Regions from separate parts of the Homo sapiens genome. Here regions 1 and 2 are each linked to region 3. The links are contacts of gene promoters, found by promoter capture Hi-C in blood cells and fetal thymus (Javierre and others, 2016). All regions are on one chromosome and are shown on one strand. The core of a region is centred on a gene start or on the middle of the fragment in contact, and the rest is flanking DNA. Distances in the headings are between cores, read along the strand shown. Region 1 overlaps EXOC2 (exocyst complex component 2). Region 2 overlaps EXOC2 (exocyst complex component 2). Region 3 holds the start of DUSP22 (dual specificity phosphatase 22).

Region 1 (3,886 bases), core at 1,259-3,758, 270 kb before region 3:
TTGTTAATAAACAGTTCTCTGAAATCCAACTGAACAGGCTTCTCTTTTAGTCAATATAAAGTAGTTTTCCATACATTAAGGGGAAAGAGACAATGGAAAAAAACATGAGTTATATCAGTAAACAAACAAAAATTAATTCTAGAATGATAGAATGTATTTTATCCTAAATTACACTGAAATCTCTGAAGGAAGAGCCATAGTTTATAGTATTTAAAACTAAAATGACAGATTTCAGAGTTTAGGCTTCCTTTGGTTTCTTTACTAGCTAATGAGAAATGATGTTGACAGTGTTGTCGTGGGTATGATACCTGATGGTTTAACCATACGACATCGTTGGTGAAAATGGTAGATGAAATTCACCTGTAAAATCGGTAGTTTCAACTTAATTCTTGGATTCATTCATGGGAATTGTACGTAAAGGTTTTAGAAAGATAAATAACTTCTCATTGGGATAAGAAAGGTTTTCTAATGAATCATTCTTTAATCAGAAACATAGATTATGTCTTAAGCATTTCTTTTAATCAAGTTATAACCATATTTAATGTTCTCTTGATGTACAAGTGCTAAAGCATTTCTTATTTTTAAATTATTTCTAATATGTTTTATTTTGTTTTTTTAATTTTTAAGACTGCTGAGAAGTCAGGCCAGATTGAAAGATCAAAGAATGTAAGGCAAAGACAAAATGATTTTAAGGTGAGTAAGGGTGATAAGTATGTAGACCTTTTCACAGGGTAGGGTTTTTCCTTTCTCACTTTGTATTCAAGACATCCATTACTGCCCAGGCAGCATCTTTTAGTTAATGTAACCCGATTAATCACATTTGAACACGGTTATGCTTGTTCCTGGTTTTCTAGAAAATGATTCAGGAAGTAATGCACTCCCTGGTGAAGCTTACCCGCGGAGCCCTGCTTCCCCTCAGCATCCGGGATGGGGAAGCCAAGCAGTACGGAGGCTGGGAGGTGAAGTGCGAGCTCTCCGGACAGTGGCTCGCTCACGCCATCCAGACTGTAAGGTGAGTATGGACACATTCTCAGAGAAAGGCGTACTTCTGTTTTTTTTAACTTTTTGGAAAGAATTAATACATTCAGTGAAGAAGAAATTCTTCTTTTTCTTCTTTTTGTCCTTTTGCCTCCACTGTTTCCTGTTCATCATCTGACAGCTAAGCTCCTCACTGTTCCTGGTTTTTGTGTTGGACTAGAATGTTCTTGAGTTTACGCATCTTCTCCGTTGTTTCACTCAGTATTACTCTGACAGTACAGTCCCAGTTGTGGTCTGTTTCTGTTTTCAGCCTAATGCTGTAGCTCGTAAGCTCCGTGAGGAATGATTATACAGTGAAAGAGATGCTAGGGATTGCTTTGCGATCCCACTCTGCTCACTTCTGTTTGGATGTGTTTGTTCGCAGACTTACTCATGAATCGTTGACTGCCCTTGAAATTCCTAATGACCTGTTACAGACTATCCAGGATCTCATCTTGGATCTCCGAGTACGTTGCGTAATGGCCACGTTGCAGCACACGGCGGAAGGTGTGTTTTGATAAATCGGTGACGTTCACTGTGCAATGATTATCTGAATGTGCCACCTCCTTTCAGTGTCCAAATCCTTGAAAACAAGGGAAAATTACTCTTCTGGAAATTGGAATATATTAGTTCATCTTATTTCTAGCTGCTCAATAAGTGTTTTTTCTTTTTGTGATGTATTGTTGAGAATTAAGACCATGCAGAAACTAAGATGGATACACTTGAAAATGTTTAAAGATATAAGAATATTGTTATGATAAATGTTAAGTAGAAAACATAGGGTATAAAATGTACATAAAGTCTGATCTCACTTTTGAAAATATATGGATGTATATTTTTAAATTTTAATTTACAGAAATCAATGTCCAATCAAAGGAAACTCTGTTAGTGTTGGTTCTCTGGATTCCAGAAATTATAGATGATTCTTGTTTTCTTTATACTTTTTAAATTTTTCAGGCTTTTCTACATAAAATCATAAAAAAACCATAAAGGTTTTCTTTACAAAGCAGCCTTTTAGTTATTAAATATTTTCAAAAATAAGAACATTGCTAAAATGGCACAGGCCTTTACTATCTACTACCAGGCTTGGCTTTTTAGGTAGGAAGCTTACATCTCTGCAAAATTGGTGGGCGATACTGTGTAAATGGGAAGGGAATGGAACCCAGGTGAGAAGTTGGATATTCCCCTCTTAGTTGATTACCTCCTCCTCACCTAGGAACCTGAGCCTGCCCCAAGGCCGAAGGTTTGAGCAGGTGGCATTCCCTTAGCCAACTGAGAATCATATTGCCCTTGTCAGGAATCTGTAGGATTCAAAAAACAGCCAAATTACTCATCAGAAATTTTAGGAAAAAAAATACTGTATGACTTATTTTGTACATGCCTAGTGTTGTGAAGAATCCTGAATAAGTAATAAATGATTGTCTCAAGTTGTCATTAAATCCAACGTAGAATTCCCCAAATTGGGCTATACAGTAAAAACTTTTATTCACATTAATATCTTAGTAGAATCATCCAGTGAACAATATGTACTTAAATCATCAAGTCTACCAAAATTATATTCTTTGCCTACTTTCATCGAGTTTTTACAAACCTATATAAAACAATGAAAAACCATAACCTGTATACATTTTTAATCTGTATAAAATTTAGTGAGATAATTATAATAAAGTATTTGTGTGCTTCTTCTCATATAGAAATAAAGAGATTAGCTGAAAAAGAAGACTGGATTGTTGACAATGAAGGACTGACTTCTCTAGTAAGTTTAAGTTCTTTTCAATTATTAGTCATTAGTGTGTATTTAAAATAAATAGTTTATCATATTAATAGGGAGCATGTGCTCCATGTGTTGCAGCTCTAAATAGAAATAGAAGCTTCTTAAAGGTTTTCTTCTCAGAGACATTTTTGCTTAACACGAACCATAAATATTGAAAAATTAATGAGAACAATGCGTTTCTTTTAGACTTGACCTTTTTCATCCTGTATAACTTACGATTTTTGTTTGAATTAGTTTTTTAAAAACAGAGTATGCTCAATTCTAAATTACTCAGCAACTTGAGCTTTTCCGGAAAGCAGGATAGAAGAGATGACGTTGCTGGCTCCAAAGCCAAAACAAACCAAACAAACAAAAACAACCACCACAGACCACTGCAGATACATTCTCAGGCCAGGCAGCCAACTGTGACCTGTTTCTAGAATCTTCATCTTTTCAGCTGGGACTTTTAGGTTTAAAAATCATCTTCATGATTTCACGGGTTTTCACACTTGTCTCACGGGTGCCCCTCGCGGTCCTGTGGGTGGCTGTGCCAGTGACGATGGCCAGGCAGCGGCCGACACATCCCAGTGGCTTTCACCAGGGGGGGACTTCTGTCTCTCACAGCAGCCTGGCAGCGTGGTCACACAGTCAGTGCCCAGGGCTGCCTCCATCCTTCTTCCCTGTGACCCTTCACACTGCCTTCTACTCAGGCTGGCCTCGGGGTCACTCGTGGCCTGGCTGCTGTCAGGAAGAAAGTCCAGTCCCCTCCCAGGAGCCATAACTTGCAACTCTCCTCCATCTAATTGGTCAGAACACATTCCATGCCTGTCCCTGTTGGCAACAGAGGTCGGGAGAGCACGTGGCTGCTCCTGTTTTCTGTCTTACCTTATTAAGAAAAAAGGATAGGCTGGGTGCGGTGGCTCACGCCTATAATCCCAGCACTTTTGGAGGCCGAGGTGGGCGGATCATGAGGTCAAGAGCGAGACCATCCTGGCCAACATGCTGAAACCCCGTCTCTACTAAAAATACAAAATTTTGCTGGGCATGGTGGTGGGCGCCTGTAATCCTAGCTACTCAGGAGGCTGAGGCAGGAGAATCACTTGAACCCAGGAGGCA
Region 2 (4,125 bases), core at 969-3,468, 290 kb before region 3:
ACAGGTAATGTCATATCTATGTTTGTGTATGTGTGCGTGTGTTTATATAAAATATTTGCCTTAATTATAAGTTTGCTGGGAATACACACAAATTTTCTTTTGTGTGATCTACAACTGTTGTTGACTAGGGACCCTTGGTGGATGTTTTATTATTGTCCTAATTATATATAATATAAATGTAAGGTAATATGGGGGAATGCCTACTAAATATTGTTTGGAATTTCCTTTGAGCATCCTCTCATAATTGTGACATTTTAGATGTGGAAGAAATCTGGGAAACTGTCTAGTTTTGTGGATGCCTTTAGCTCTATTTCGCATGTGACAAAGGTGTCTCAGAGAAGCCACAGGACAGACCCACGTCCTCCGTATCCTGAGTAGGGGTGGGACTAGTGGGTGTCCAGACACGTCCTCCGTATCCTGAGCAGGGGTGGGACTAGTGGGTGTCCAGGTCACTCCCCCTCTCACCTGATCACACTCCCTCCAGACCAGTGAGTTATGGAATAGGTTACTGAACACCTCCCTCTGAGTTACATTGTTGGAGCAAATATTGCATCAAACAGGATTTCTCAATGTGATGTCAGAGCAGGTGAGCGTTCCCCTGGTAAGGGAAGGCTGGCTGGTATTTGGGGATTCATGAAGAGCTGCACCTGAAACTAGCCAAGCTCGATGAAGTGCTTCTGGTCTTTATTACTTTTATGCTATTTTGCTATACATAGGTGAATTCTATTAAGGAAATTTTACACAGACCTCATCACTCACTTCTAAAATTATATGTGCAATGTAAATAAATGCTCTGAGAATGAGCAAGTTAAGAAAATGGAGGTGAGTGAGAGAGCATCCAGTCCCTTAGGAGGGATCCTGGGAAATGTAAGGCTGTCCCTGGGAAGGCCCGCAGTGCCCCCATCAGAGCCAAAGGAACTCATGGCACATACATTGGATGTAAAGCTTCAGAGCCGGCAGCCTGCAGCGGATGCCACCTCTCTCTTGACTCGAGTGTGTCTGGTTATTTTCTGATGCCCGGGGCTCGGTGACAGAGTACTTACTTGTTTGCTTGGCACCTGCTGTTTCCTTGAATTGATTATAGCTGTCTACTGAAGGCTAGAGCATTTGAAAACACAATTACTACCGTAAGAAATTGCTTACAAATGATCTGCGGTAAAAGGACTGCCTACATTTTATCTGGTACTTTGTTATAAAGCTACATTGTTTTTATGCGGGTTTTCTCAGGAGCCTGCTTTTAAAATGAAAGCTTACTACATTCCAATATAAAGAAAACAAGTTTTAAGTAGTTCCTTTATTATAATATCTGTACTTAGACTACTAACACTGTAAAGTTGTTTAGGTAAATCCACTAGCAGAACAATGGATAAGAAGAAGAATAGCTTTGTGAAATGAAATGCAATTTTAAATGGATAGACTATAAATATTTCAAACGGAAAAATAATTCTTGATGTCTGTTTAAAGTAAATGTGGTCTTTGTGCATGAATCTAAGAAATCTAACATATAAATATTTTTTTAAGTCTGCTTTTTTAAAGCAAAGACTTTTGCTTTTCACTTTGGTGGTTTGGGAAAAAAATGTTAATTGTATGTAGCCCTGTGGTATTCAGAGAAAATGTTATGAGCAAAGATGGTGACAGATTTTCAGAGACAGCAGTCCTACATACAAAGCTACCTTTTTCCGAGAAAGCTCCTTTTGTAGATGAAGCATTTGGCAGCAGAGTTTGCCGTACAGTTGATAATTCTATGAGTCCTGCATTAGATCCTTGTCTGGACTCGTTTTTGTAGTAATAATATACACTGGTGCTAGCAGATGGTGCCCTTCGGAGTATAACACGAGGCCAGGACAGGAGCTCACCCTTGCACCTCACACACCTGGTCCTTTACCCCCAAACGCTCCACATGCCTCTTGCATCCTCTAACTCTGTAGCCCAAATGTGATCATTTAGGTTTTTCTAAGGGTGGAAAAAGATGGGAAAAACAAGAGCAAAACTAAGGTTAATATTTTAAAAACTCATCTTGAAACCTTCTAAATACTGATGGAAGAGTTTATGGTGTTTGTCCAGCCTGAACAGGTTAACCATTTTGCTTCTCTTCCCCTATGTTCAAAGCAGCCTTGTGTTCTGAATTGTTATACATGTTAAACTTTTACTACCTTATTAAGAAGTGTCACCCGTCTCTTAAAATTCCTGTGAAATAGGTCCAAAATTAGACTGCGTCTTCAGAGGTTTCCTGCCAGGAAAAGCCTTTGGTTAACCCCCTACTGACATTCACAAACAGGATTTTTAAAGGTGGTCTTCAAAGGTGTTTTTTTCTTTGTTCTGAATGTGAGTTAAAATATATGCTGGCTATGTCTGATAACTTAAGGGAGAAGGCATCAGGCTACTCATAGAGAAAGTGTTACCTTCTTTCAGAGATGCACTTAATTAGAACTTCTAAAAGGACATCATTAGAATTAGGGTTCAGTAGGCAACATTTAGAACATGGCCACACTGTTAAGTAAGCAGTAAGTTCTCGAGAATAGCCGCAGAGCAGAAGAAAAGACATTTATACCTGGCTCAGGTTCTCTTTGAAAACTTAGAGATGGTATGTTCCATCTGAGTGGTTTATTTCGAGTCTTCACAGTGGTGGAGCTATTATAGAAAGAAAACTGAATAACAGGCTGTGCTAAACATCTACCCTTTTAATAATTTCTGACACTCACTAGAGTATTAATTACTTGCTGAAAGAAATAAAAACATTTATGTTACTCCAAGAACCTTAAGATACACAAAGTCCATATTTTCAGTACAAGCTCATAACATACATGCATAAATCATAGTATTACAATTTATGATTTTGAATTTACATAGTATAAACTGTTATATCTTGCTATTTTAAAAAATACAGCTAGGACCTTTACGTACATATTTTATATCATTTTTACAAATATTATTGGGGTTAATATTACATATAATTCTGGTATTACCATAATGCAGGGTCAGGTAGACTTCCTGTATGCGAGATTAAATTACAGCCCCCATTAGGAAACCATTAGCAGATTCATTGAATTTTCTGTGGAACCACGCAAATAATTTCATAGTTAAAAAGTCAGTGTAAGTGTATTGTTGTATATGTGCTAAATCTTTTAATAAAATTATCATTTTAATTTTAAAGTTATCATAATAAGGTTGCACATTAGGAAGCTTCTTTTTTTATGGAGTTAATTTTCTAGAGATTTAAAAAATTGTTTCTCTCCTGAATATTGATCACAGCCTGAACCCAGGTTGAGAGAGGTTGGTTTAAAAAAAGGAAAGGCACAACTGCAGCGAGCACAGATATGAGATGCTAGTTTCTTTCCATCTTGCCCTCCCTGCAGCTCAGCACTGGGGTGGTGCCTTTGTGACCTGTGTACGGCTGCCAGTGGGCGGACCTCCAGGGAAGGCTTCTGCTGTGCACTTGTTCGTTTGCATGCTGTGATGACAGAGTTTTTCAAAATTGTCTTTGGAAGATGAAATGCTTAGTGGGGTTTTATTTACCTGCTTTAAGATGTATAAGCTGCGCTATGTATGCAGCGTATGTGCACACAGTGAGAAAGTAGATTCAGGAGAGGGAAGTGGAAGAAGTCAGTAACCTGGGACTTGAGAATTTGATTTCTTTTGGAATAGCATAGCACTCATTTGTAGATCCCCATGTAGTAAAGTAACAGCTGTTGAATATCACAAGAAAAAGTTGGATTAAGGTCTCTTTTTTTTGTGTCTCCTGTTTTGTAATAGATTCTATTCACCTTACAATGAATAATCTTTTTTAGATCACACAGGCCAAAAAGGCTATGTGAAAAGGACCTTGTCAATTTGTGATTGTAGCAGCTGGTTCTTTTCCACTGCCCTGGCTTACTGTGCATCTGGAAGAAGACTTCTGGCAGCCGGAAGTCATTTCATGTCTAAACTTGTCCCCATCCTTCATAGAAAAAAAATTTTGATGATGAATGTCAAACACACATTGAATGCTAACTTTACTTGGTAATTAAAAATACTGATAATTGTAAGTACTTTTGTTCTGTATTCTGTTATTTTTGTAATTCCTTTATATGTTCTAAGCATTTTTCTGCATGTAAATCTATATGAAACTGCTAAAAGACATAGGAC
Region 3 (4,185 bases), core at 1,686-4,185:
TGCTGCGTACACCTAACGGAAACGGGCACAATATTCCGCCGTACAGGAGCCCGGAACGGACCGACAAGAAGAGCCACCACAGGGATGTGAATGATAAAAACTGCTGTCCCAAAGCACTCAGAATGCAGCGTGCACTGTTTAGACCAGAAATGCTCTTTTGCCAAAAATGACCAATGTGTACGAGATTGGAAAGAAATCTTGTCCCAGTAACCTCAGGGCACACACATTCCAAGTTATGTTAGTTCCAAAGACATTGCACATATTTATAAATGTTCTTAGAAAAGGATTTCTAGGGGTAGCACCTTCCGCTGATTCTGCAAATCAACCATTCTTCTTTTTTTACAGATGAAGCCTCGTTCCAAGTCACACAGTAATATATGGAAAAGTTCTAGTTAAGGTTCTTAAGTTACTGGCCTCCTGCGATCTACTTTGCCACTAATGAACCTTGTGATTTGGGGTAGTTCCTCCTGATCTCACGTTAAACATGTTTACTGCAGCAGGATTCCTTGCCTGGGCTGAATGCCCCTTCTAGGTCACTTTCATCCCATCTTCTGCTTTCCCCACTTTTCTGAAATTGCCTATTTTATCCTCTGGAGCCTCTACTCCTCCCTACCTTGTGTTTGTTCTCTCTCTCACCCCCACACACATACACACCCTGTGTTGTGCAACACAGCAGCCATTAGCCACAGTGACTATCGAGTACTCCAAATGTGGCTAGTCCAAAATGAGATGTGATTTAGGCATAAAATACACACTAGACTTTGAAGGTTAAGTGATCTGGGGGTCCCGAGATTTTTCCTTTCACAAAGACATAGTAAAAAACATGGAATCTTCCATGAATAACTTTATATATTGGTTACATGTTGAAACAATAGTTTTAATATATTGTTAAATAAAATATATTATTAAAATTAATTTCACCGGTTTATTTTTTAATGTGGCTACCGGAACATTTTAAGTTACATATATAGCTCGCATCATATTAGTGCTGGACAATGCTGACCTGTACTGAAGGTTCTGTGAAGAATCTTTGGGTCATTTACCACTGTACTCCCTTTGCCCCCTCCCCACCCACTAGCACAACACCTGGCTCATAGTATGTACATAATCAATAAGTGTTGAAGCAGGGAAGTCTCTAAATCTCTCTATACATGTATTTCTTCATTGATACACTGTGAGTCTCTATTCACAAGATAATAAAAGTCAAGAAATTTATTACCCATTTTGAAAGGTAAAAAGTATATGAATATTACTGCTTTTGTTGAAAAGCATGAAAATAACGTTGATCCCTTAGGCAACCATCTGTATTCCTAAATATATTTTTTGAATTGTATTACACAAATACTATAAATTAAATGCTGAAAACGGTGGAGAGTGAACAGCTCAAGTGGGAAAACTAGAAACAGCCAAAGGAAAGCTGAGATACCACCACCAATGGGAAGGCAAACGGAGCCCACAGACTTATGATGACCATCTTTATTGTTCTGTTTTAATTTAAAAAGCAGAAGGCTCGTGGTGCTGATGGATTCCAGTGCTCATCGGAATATAATACAAGTATTTATCCAAGAGAGAGACAGTCTGTTTCCAAACTTGATCACTCGCCAAAAAAAAAAAAAAAAAAAAAGTGAATACAATTCTCTTTACCAAAATACCCCAGTATTGATATGCAGGTCCCAAACACACAATAGTTCTTTCACAAACTGGGTAACCAGGACACAATAAACACGACATGCGCACGTGAAAAGTTAGCTAGGTTTTCCCTGCCCTACCGTGAATCCGCATTTGCAACACTCCAGCCCCAACACCCAAACCACTGCTGACCCAGTGCTGAGGGACATGAAAAAAAACACAGCCACATTGCCATCCCCACCCAGTGTGGAAGCTGACGGCATGTAGAGATGTGGGTGGGTGGAGCGCAATGAAAAAGTGAAGCAGAAAGACGACTCATCTAATCCAGGACCATTCAAAGACCCGTAAAAAGGTACTTGTCTTTGTTGCGGGCTTTGTAAAGTCTTGTCAATCCTTCCTCGAAACCAGCCAAGTACCAAGTAACAAAATCCTTAACCCTGTGGTTCACATGAATACACCCCGGCAACTCTCAGCTGCCAGAGCTGGAATCTGGCAACTTCCCTGGACGGGAAAGGCTAGCCCACCGCCCGGGAAGTGAGGTGCGGGCAACAAAAGAACACAGGGTGGGGCCCAGAAACGGACGGGACAAATGGAGCAACACAGATTTTCCAGAAGGCCTCATCAGCGCAAGCAGCCAGCAACAGGTTGCCCTTGTTGCAGAAGTCACATAACCTAATCAACTCTGAATCTTTTCTCTCCTCCCCACTATCTAGAAACAGCTCAGGACTTAGGACTCTGTTAACTTCTCTGTCCACAAGAAAAACTTCTCTGTGCTCACAGGCACACACACAGAATCTGAGGAGAAAGAGGAAATTACAGAGGACACCCGTTTACTAATGATGTGGGGGGGGCGGTGGTGGCTTCAAGAGCGTAGTTTGGGAGCGAAGAGGAGGGCAAAAAAGAAGCCACATCCATTCGGAGCTCAGCTGACCTCTCGGCAGAACAAGTGTCAACGCTTTCAAAGGGCGCGGCTTGTTTCAGCCACGAAAACGCACCGGCTGGCAAGGCAGGCGGCTGGGGGCTGCCTACCCGGAAGCCGGGTGGGGTGGGGGCGGGAACACCTCCGAACCCCGACTCCGCGGTCGCCGCCCAGGCGCGCCGCCCCTCCCTCCGCGCCCGTCCCCACCGCGGGAAAGGGCACCCCGGGCTCGAGTCGTCGGGCAGCCGACGCCGGCGAGACGGCAGGGCGTCGGAGCGGAGGCAAACCCAGCGCGAACGAGGGAAGACGTTACCTTGTTCATCCCATTCCCCATGGTGGCTGAAGGCGAACGCTAGCGCCCCGGCCGTGTGGTCGCAGGCGCACTATGGCATGTTACAGGGAGGAGGAGCGGCGGGGCGGGCGGGGAGGAGGCGCGCGGGAGGGACTGAGTGCTCGCAGTGTCAACAAGTCAGCGGCAGGGACCGGCCGGGCAACCCAGGGCGCTCCAGAGACCCGGCGTGGAGGGCAGGGCTTTCTGTGCGGCGGCCTAGAACTTCCCGGCGGGAGCCGGGCAGGGGCACCGGAGCCTATGCCGGGAAATGGTCCCGCCTTGCCGGTCCCCGCCCCCGTGCGCACCGGGCAGGCCCAGCGTCCCTCCTCGCTCCGCCCGCCCGCACCCTGGGATTCGTAGTCGGGTTCCTGGCTGCCGCGCCCCACTCCGCCCTCGCGGACCCCGGCTCGCGGCCGCCGGGCGTGGGAGGCACTAGGCTCGGGCTCCCAGGCGGCCGGCCCCGGAGGCCAGAGCGCGTGCGCGGCCCGAGCCGCCCCGCCGGGACACCCGAGGCTGCGCGGCGGGGCCTGGCGGACGCGCAGGCGCTGCCCTGACCGGGCGGCTGCGCTCGTCTCGGAGCCCGCTCCCCGGCCGGGGGTCTCCAGATCCCCCTTTGGCCTTTTCCCCTGGGGCGACTCCGGGGGCCAGTTACCAGCAGTCGCTACCCAGCCTTGGCTGCCTCCGTGAATCAGGTGCTAATCAGAGGCCTGGTCTCTGGGGGCTCCCCTGCCTGGGTTTTCTGAGTGCGGCAGATTTAGGCTGGGGGATTTCCTGCGGCCCTGCCCCATGCACCAAGACCGAGAAGCCTCGCCTGGTGGGGAGAGGTGGGCTACGTGACTCACCCCGGGGAGGCCCGACCTCCCTACCCTGGGGGAGCAGATGGCTGGATCTCTGACCTCAGACCTCACGGCCTTAGATGATGTGTGTCCCTTAATGTCTGCATTGTGGTTCTGTCTGGAATGGATCAATTTCTAAACTGTAGCAGAATTGTTTTGGGTGTTCTATCAACGTTATTAAACTCTGAAGTTTCTCTCCAGCGACAGAATCCTTGAGCCAGTGGTTTTTCTTCTTAATTTATGTATCCTCAACAATGTCCTGAACATAGTAGGTGCTTAATAAATATTTGCTGAATGAGTACATGCGTCAATCTGACGTGCCCTGGCTCACCCCTGCTGACTTCATTTTATCTTCTTGCTAAGCGAGTTACACACATGCTGGTCTCCTGTCTGTTCCTTGAGCCTGTCAGGCTTGCTGGGCTGTGCTCTCTATCCAGACACCTGGATCCCCAGCTCTCTGCATACCTGCC

The links. The method cuts DNA at HindIII sites, captures the fragments that hold promoters and counts their contacts. A CHiCAGO score of 5 or more calls a contact.
Region 1: a fragment that was not itself captured here is called in contact with the fragment with the promoter of DUSP22 in region 3 in 6 of 17 cell types (activated CD4 T cells, total CD8 T cells, naive CD8 T cells and 3 more); the score reaches 9.7 in activated CD4 T cells.
Region 2: a fragment that was not itself captured here is called in contact with the fragment with the promoter of DUSP22 in region 3 in 1 of 17 cell types (activated CD4 T cells); the score reaches 8.4 in activated CD4 T cells.

What each region holds. Positions count from the first base shown.
Region 1 is chr6:561,671-565,556 of GRCh38, reverse strand. EXOC2 (exocyst complex component 2) reads left to right here. Exons shown (of 28, transcript NM_018303.6): 14 at 628-693; 15 at 855-1,012; 16 at 1,403-1,524; 17 at 2,712-2,773. Among named protein-coding and RNA genes, the nearest start is that of HUS1B, 93 kb to the left of the region's middle. RefSeq lists an enhancer at 637-1,836. The HindIII fragment of the contact is 765 bases long and covers 2,126-2,890 here.
Region 2 is chr6:583,101-587,225 of GRCh38, reverse strand. All of the region lies in intron 11 of EXOC2 (exocyst complex component 2), which reads left to right. Among named protein-coding and RNA genes, the nearest start is that of HUS1B, 72 kb to the left of the region's middle. RefSeq lists an enhancer at 3,356-4,125. The HindIII fragment of the contact is 1,934 bases long and covers 1,252-3,185 here.
Region 3 is chr6:291,237-295,421 of GRCh38, reverse strand. DUSP22 (dual specificity phosphatase 22) reads right to left here and starts at 2,935. Exons shown (of 7, transcript NM_001286555.3): 1 at 2,862-2,935. The coding sequence starts at 2,882. RefSeq lists silencers at 1,643-1,702, 1,713-1,772, 1,652-1,808, 2,553-3,572 and enhancers at 2,203-2,462, 2,755-3,255, 3,256-3,756, 3,683-3,972. The HindIII fragment of the contact is 6,707 bases long and covers 1-4,185 here.